Regions from separate parts of the Homo sapiens genome. Here region 1 is linked to region 2. Evidence: promoter capture Hi-C in human tissues and cell types (Jung and others, 2019). All regions are on one chromosome and are shown on one strand. The core of a region is centred on a gene start or on the middle of the fragment in contact, and the rest is flanking DNA. Distances in the headings are between cores, read along the strand shown.

The links. Contacts are between HindIII fragments. The study calls those that stand out against the background at their distance.
Region 1: a contact is called between a fragment that was not itself captured here and the fragment with the promoter of NEUROD1 in region 2, in 1 of the 25 tissues and cell types used here (lymphoblastoid cells).

What each region holds. Positions count from the first base shown.
Region 1 is chr2:181,469,674-181,473,634 of GRCh38, reverse strand. The region is part of intron 2 of ITGA4 (integrin subunit alpha 4); the gene reads right to left. Among named protein-coding and RNA genes, the nearest start is that of ITGA4, 14 kb to the right of the region's middle. The HindIII fragment of the contact is 5,063 bases long and covers 1-3,961 here.
Region 2 is chr2:181,679,096-181,682,875 of GRCh38, reverse strand. NEUROD1 (neuronal differentiation 1) reads left to right here and starts at 2,359. Exons shown (of 2, transcript NM_002500.5): 1 at 2,359-2,446. RefSeq lists an enhancer at 1,133-1,709. The HindIII fragment of the contact is 10,799 bases long and covers 1-3,780 here.

The DNA of each region.
Region 1 (3,961 bases), core at 1,022-3,521, 210 kb after region 2:
GAGATTTTGTTTAAGGAGTGTGGGAAGATGTTTGTTTATACTTTCGTTTTCTAAAATGTCATTCAGGAAAAACAAAACCTTTAATCACAACTGAAGTGAAGAAAATGTTTGAGCTCCTCCTCTGGAGATTCTGCTCCAGCAGATCCAGGTGAGGCCCTGATTACCCTAGGTCAGTGGTTCCCAATCTTTTTGGCACCAAGGACTGGTTTCGTGAAGACAATTTTTTCCATGGGCAGTAGTAAGGTTTGGAATGAAACTGTTCCACCTCAGATCATCTGGCATTAGATTCTGCTAAGGAAAGCACAACCTAGATCCCACGGCTGTGCAGTTCGTAATAGGGTTTGCACTCCTACGAGAATCTAATGCCACCACTGATCTGACAGAGGCAAAGCTCAGGCGGGAATGCTCACTGGTCCACTGCTCACCTCCTGCTGTGCAGCCCAGTTCCTACCAGGCCACGGGCCAGTACCCATCCACAGCCCAGGGATTGGGGACCCCTGCCCTAAGTGGTTCTCATGGTCAGGAACACTGTTACTGTGAAATGCAGAGAATGTTTTTCTCGACAGCATACACATAGAATAAATGGCAACCCCCACTAACTGGTAATGGCTTCCTGGAGAACTAGACTGAAGGGAGGAGGACTAAGACTAGGTCTGGACAAAGAATGCTGGGGTTGATTGGCAATGGTTGCTATTAGAATTGGAAAGGAGTCTTGCTGTGGCCCAAACCTTGGTAAAGAACAGTCCAGGTGGACACATAAGGTCTCCGTGTTAACTTGAGAAAGGAAGGGATGAAGAGAGAAATGACACGAAAAGAGAAGGGGAAAACAGAGGGAAGATGGTAGGAGAAAAAAAATTGTGTGTGGGAGATAGGTAAGGTCTAAAATAGGGAGTTGTTATTGTGGCTACCTAATGCCAAACCAACAAAATTTAAATTAAAAGAGAATGACAAACAAGGCATTTTAATTTTCATTATAATACAATTTTCAGTTTTCACTAAAATCAATTGTTTACTGTCAAAAATAGATAACAAATGGTAGATTCAGTCTACATGAAGTTCCTGTTATTTACTACAATAGCCATGTTAATAAGTTCCCTCTGAAAATACTAAAATTTTTATGAATTTATAGTCAACACTCAGTTAAGACAATTGAGCAAGAAGAAAATTAAGGACAGGAGAGGATGGGGGTCACAAATAATATGGCGTGTATAATAGACACTTTCATTACGATTACATCCAATATTTAGAAACAAATCTATTATTCTAGAGAGAGCCACCCAGAAGATTAAAAAGACAATAGTTTAGAACCACAATGTACCATGTAAATAGCTTAATGAAAATGGCCAAAAAATTATGTGCAAAAATAGTGTATTGTTATCGGTTTCTTAGCTGAACTGTTTTGTAAATTTCTAAGTGAAGACTAGACAAACTCTTGCATTATGAACTCTTATCTATTTAATATTCTGCATTGCCTCCTTCTTGTTTTAGTTTTAGCTCCATCAGGTAACATCACAATGTCATCACTGCCCAGGCTCACACTGAGGTTTACACACACCACAAACTACTCACTTTCTCACTTACTAACATCACTTCCCTGAAACTTCTTTCTCTCCACATGAGTGCCTCTCAGCTCTCTGGGAAAAGGGCCACTAAATCATTAGGCTATTTTAAGATGTGTCCCATGTAGTCTCACCAAAGTCCTGGGACTTTATTTCCAGTGTGGCTCATGCCCTTCCCTTCTTCTTGTTCTAGGCTAAAAATAATGATTCTTAGAAATAGGAGAACAATTAGCCCTCCAGAAGCCACAAGAAAGAGATGTTTACTTAAGAATAAATGTAGGAAGAGCTTTCCCAGGAAGCCAGTGATGTGGTTCATTCACCCGTGAGCAGAAGAGATTCCAAATAGAAAAACATATGGCAGGTGTGTAAGTGGGAAATTGGTGGGGTGGGGGTCAAAATGCCACTAGATGTAATCTCATATCTGTTACAATGTGGTTCCAAACAATAGTTGCCTTCTAATATATAGATAAAATTTCTGATTCATTAATTTTCAAATATCTCCTATACAGTTGTTAGTTAATCCACTCTTAGATACTGAAAGATGACTCTCAACATCAGCACTCAAGGGTTCTTAGACACACAGGATGCGATCACTCAGAGGAAATTGTGGTGAAATTGATTAATATCTTGTAGGAATAAGTATTTTCATTTTTGTTAAGGTTAACTACATTTATTTATTTACAATGTTTCTGGCCTATTTCCAAGGCTTAGTAAATAGTGACCTCATTCATCTTGCCCAGGACTGTATCTTTGTCATAATCCCACCCCCGACAAACAGCCCAGAAATGGGTGCTGAAATGGAAAGGTCAGTAAACGAAAAACAATTCAAAGCTTCTATTATGGTTTGACTAAACATCTTCTGCTTATTTCATATATCTTAATTCAAAATGTGTGTAAAAAGAATGAATGCATAGCCAGAAAGAAAGTTCATGGAAATAGTCATGAAACAATCATTCTTCCACAGAAGAAAAACCAATCTTAATAAGTGAGCAAATACATATACTACATTTAGATATGTTTCCCCTTTTCACTTCTTAACACTGTTTTTACCATAGAGGCAGCCCCCAACAGCAATAATATTGAGGTAACTTTCAAGTACTGGTTACAGGTTAGAATCTGTTCAGAGAACATCCTGTAATTTCCCCTAGTGTTCTGGGTTTTTTCTTAATTTCTGGGACTTTTTCTCTTTTTATTTTTTAGGGAGATAGGATCTCACTCTGTCATCTAGGCTGCAGTGCATTGGCGTGATCATAGCTCACTGCAGCCTCAAACTCCTGGGCTCTTGTAATCCTCCCACTTCAGCCTCCTATGTAGCTGGGGATATAGGTGCCCACCACCATGCCCAGCTTCTCTTTTCTTTTGTTGTGCCTGCGGAATCTTGGTAGAAGAAGTAAGACTGCTACATGATCAGCTTGTGATCATGGCCTTCTCCAAAGCTTTTCTCCCTTAACCTGTGTGATCCTGAGTCCACTCCTTTTCCACTCAGTACTCAGCCTTGACTGGACGTTAGAATCAACTGAAGGGAGTTTGAAACCAGTACCTCCACTTGGGCCCCACTCTTAGAGGCTCAGACTTGACATGTCTGGGTTAAGAACCAGACATAAGAATTTTTTTGAAGCCCCCCAGGTAGTTGTAGCATATGGTTGGGCTTGTGAACAATAGCTCTACAATGTAGCTCAGGGGTGTCCAATATTTGGTTTCCCTGGGCCATACTGGAAGAATTGTTTTGGGCCATACGTAAAGTACACTGACACTAATGATAACTGATCAGCTAAAAAAAAAATTGCAAGAAAATCTCATATTTTTTTTCCTCTTTGACATATTGATTTTATTTTCTTTGGATATATACCTTCAGTGAGATTGCTGAGTCTTGTAATAGTTCTATTTTTAAATTTTTGAGGAATCTCCATACTATTTTCCATTATAGTTATACTTACTTTCCCATCAACAGTGGGCAAGGGTTCCCCATTTTTCCACATTCTTGCCAACATTTATATCTTTTTTTTTTATTATTATACTTTAAGTTCCAGGGTACATGTGCACAACATGCAGGTTTGTTACATATGTATACATGTGCCATGTTGGTGTCCTGTACCCATTAACTCGTCATTTACATTAGGTATATCTCCTAATGCTATCCCTCCCCCATCCCCCCACCCCACGACAGGCCCCGGTGTGTGATGTTCCCCTTCCTGTGTCCAAGTGTTCTCATTGTTCAATTCCTACCTGTGAGTGAGAACATGCGGTGTTTGGTTTTTTGTTCTTGTGATAGTTTACTGAGAATGATGATTTCCAATTTCATCCATGTCCCTACAAAGGACATGAACTCATCCTTTTTTATGGCTGCATAGTATTTCATGGTGTATATGTGCCACATTTTCTTAATCCAGTCTACATTGATG
Region 2 (3,780 bases), core at 1,110-3,609:
GTCGCGAACTGGAGGTTTCTGCTTTCTGGGGGTGAGGACAAGGATTTAGCAGAGGGACCTCTAGGCTACCCCTGACCTCGAAGCTAGCTGGAGTCCTTTCTCCCACTCCGTCCCCAGTTCTCCTCCGGAACTCCCCAAAGTTGGAAAAATGAGAGCCTAGGCACGAGTTGCATATGCCTGCGGCATAGTGTGCTGCCAGTCGGGGCAGCTGCCGGGTGAGGGGCAGTACTTAACCTGGCCCTGCCGCAAACGTCGGGCTGTGTACTATCTTCTAAGGGCTAGTACTCCGACGCCCTCGAGTTTTAGCCCAACACTGAAGATACAGACAGTACAGGGGTAAATCCTGGGCCCAGGCTCCTGGGTGAATTATTTTATCCTCCCCTATGCGCTTTGTCAGCCAAGTGAATGTAGAAAAGCAAGCAAAACTCCAGAACCCCACAACGATTCACGCCACGCTTCGGTGGCACAACTCTTTTCTTCCCCTTTTAGATTAGTACTGTGCAGGGAAGGCTGCACCTGCTACCTTCAGACACCGGGGATCTGGCTAGGACCCTCTTCCTCTACCCCTACTCTCTCCTCCCGTCCCCACCCTCTCCCAGATGCACCCCAATCCAGCCTCTCAACCCTGTCGCTGTTTGCAAACTCGAGGGATGTTTAGTGCAATTGCCTTTAAATAAGCAATTCACGTAAGAGGTATTTATTGCAGAGGGTTTCAGGTCTGGGAGGGGGTAAGGAGTTAGTTAATGAAGGATTAGAGGCAAAGCTGGGAAAGAACGAGTAGACAGGCCAGTTTCTTTCTTTCTTTTTAAAATCTATTATTCTGGAAAACCCTTGTTCGAAAAGAGTAAAGAATTGCTATTTGGGCAACAATATGGCTCCTTCAGAACTGGTCGAGAATTTCTGTGGTCTTTGCTTGACCTTCAAGTTGGGAGTTTCAAATCAGAGGCTTTGAAGTCTGGAGGAGTTCGCAGCCATTAATCCTTCCGGGGTTGTGCTAAAGGCGTTTCTAGAAAGAGATCGGAAAGACCCGTTCAGCACAGGCCCATTGCATCTTCTCTTTGAAAACGCTTGTCTGAATCAAGTATCTTATACAGACCCGAGACTGAGGGGAGCAAGAGCGCAGGTCCGGCTGTGGCGAGGTGTCCACCACCGTACTTGTGGTCAATGCCTGGACTAGAGAGCCGAGGCCGTCCAGGGCGGGCTGGCCAGGGAACCAGAAGCGTCCCTGGACTGGCTGAGTGAGGGTGCCCTTTCCAGCAACCCAGTGGCCATGGTTAAAAGGCAGAATACAACCGTCAAAGAAGTCCCCAGCTCCCACATAAGAGAGCGCAAAGGCCAATGGAACCAAGGCCTCCTCGCGAGAACTAGCTCGCTTTGAGGACAAGATCCTGGGGATGGAGGTGGGGACTGACGTAGTGAGAGGGTCTGGAGGAACAGTCGTAGCTGAAGGTCAGGACATGAAGAATTGCACGTATGGTAGGGATAGAATGGCAGGTACAACTTTTCTGTACTGAAGGAACTGGGAGAGGACGATCCGGTTAGGGAGGTTGGGGAACTAATCTCAACGCTGCGTTTACAGATGAAGCCGCTTTTATATGGCGTATATGTTTGCTTAGAGGGGCCGACGGAGATTAGGAGAAGCCATCCTTTGGCGCCAATGATCAAAGCGTCTGCCAAGGAGAAGAAGCCAAGGGATGGGCCTTTCAGAGAGGGCAAGGAGTCATGCTGCTCTGGATGCCAGTGTCAGGACAAGAAATCGAAAGGAGCGAGGACTCTTCACTGCGTGCCTCAGTCTCCCCGCTTCTGCCTCTTTCACCTCTGTCCTACTTCCGGCGCGAAAGCAGGCCACTCGCTCTGATCTAGACCTAGTTAACATTAGCTTTTCCCTTCCTTCCCTCAAATCCCCTCCCCCCTCTATCCCCGTCCCTTCTGCCGCCTGAAAGGGTTAATCTCTCCTGCGGGTAAAAACAGGTCCGCGGAGTCTCTAACTGGCGACAGATGGGCCACTTTCTTCTGGCCACAAAGGGGCCGGAATGGAGCGCTCCGCGGCATACAAATGGGCAGGTCACGTGGTTCCAGGCTCTTGGCTGGACCGGGAAGACCATATGGCGCATGCCGGGGAGGAAGGAGGAGGGGCGGGGGTAGGGGTGGAGGGTGAGGGGAGCGGTTGTCGGAGGAGGGCGGGAGACGAGCAAGGCGTGGGGAGAAGTGGGGAGGAGGGGAGAACGGGGAGCGCACAGCCTGGACGCGTGCGCAGGCGTCAGGCGCATAGACCTGCTAGCCCCTCAGCTAGCGGCCCCGCCCGCGCTTAGCATCACTAACTGGGCTATATAACCTGAGCGCCCGCGCGGCCACGACACGAGGAATTCGCCCACGCAGGAGGCGCGGCGTCCGGAGGCCCCAGGGTTATGAGACTATCACTGCTCAGGACCTACTAACAACAAAGGTAATTACAGTTCTTTCATTTTTTTGCCCCAGAATAGAAGCAATAACTGAAGACTGATGAACCTACATATTCTGTATGTGTGCGTTTGCGAGAGTGTGTATGTGTATTGAGACCAGCATCCCCCTCCATAATTGCCCATAAGTACTCACACATAATGAGTCGTGTCACTCAAGTACCCCCTGCAGGCTTTCTAATTTAAATTTTAAAAATTTGGGTTTCTTTTGTGGATAGCATAGGAGCTTCTTGGATTTTTTAAAAGAATGCACGGTAACTATGATTATCTGCTAGTGCTGATTTTAAAGTCCCAAAAGCAATAATGACTTCACTTTCTCACTTCTTACAGTAAGAAAAAAAAATCTATGTTATCAATATATATTTTGTGTGCATGTATTTTACGCACATTGGGAGTGTCAAGCTGTGTTTTCAGTGAATGAAAGGGACATGGATACCTTGAGTATTCACACCATGGAAAATAAATCAGGTTCAGAGATAGTTTAGTTGAGAGGGGGGAAAGTGGAGAAAGGGAGAGGGACTCACTCCTGCTACCTGTTACCGCTCCAGAGGCGGCCAAGTCCCCAGCAGCCACTACTGGAGCCAGAAATTCAGTTGTTTTACTAAAGGCTTTTTATTTTCCTTACTAGAAGCGGCAACTTCGCGGTTGCCAATCGCTGACCATTATAATTACTCAATCTTTTAAAGGGAGGTTTGAGGCGAACTTTGAAAAGCCCCAATAAAGAGCGGGCGGCCCTTTCAATGGGCTGTTTATTAGAGAGGAGCCTTCCGCACCTGATCCCCGGCGCGTGGGAGAGCGCTCTGCGCCGCGCCCCCAGCCCTCGCCCTGCAGCTAGCGCTTTTGTACAAGGTGGAAATTTAGCGGTGGGCCAGAGATGGAAGGCAAGAAAAGAAAGGCGAGGGAGGGGTGGAAGACCCTGTCCACTTTTGTTGCCAAATGTTACATTGATGGTGAAACAATTTGGTGGAAACTATTTTTCCTCCTTTCTGCATTTGCTTTTCAGTATCCCGTCGATGTAATCTTCTTAAAAATCGCTGCCAGTATTAGTAAATTACGCAATGGCTGTTCAACTTAAATCGCTAAGTATCTGGAAGCCAGGACAGAAATGGAAGTAGAATGTGTGATTTTACAGCTTTTTTTTTTTTTTATGGAGTTGTGAGTAACTTTGAACACATTTGGATAAACATGAAGTCGCTGAAATGTACAGTCATTTCCACACACATTATCCTGTCGGGCAACCACCATAAACACATTTAAGTTAATCACTAGGATACAAACACATATGCGTGAGTGGTGTACACATATACATATTCACTACCCT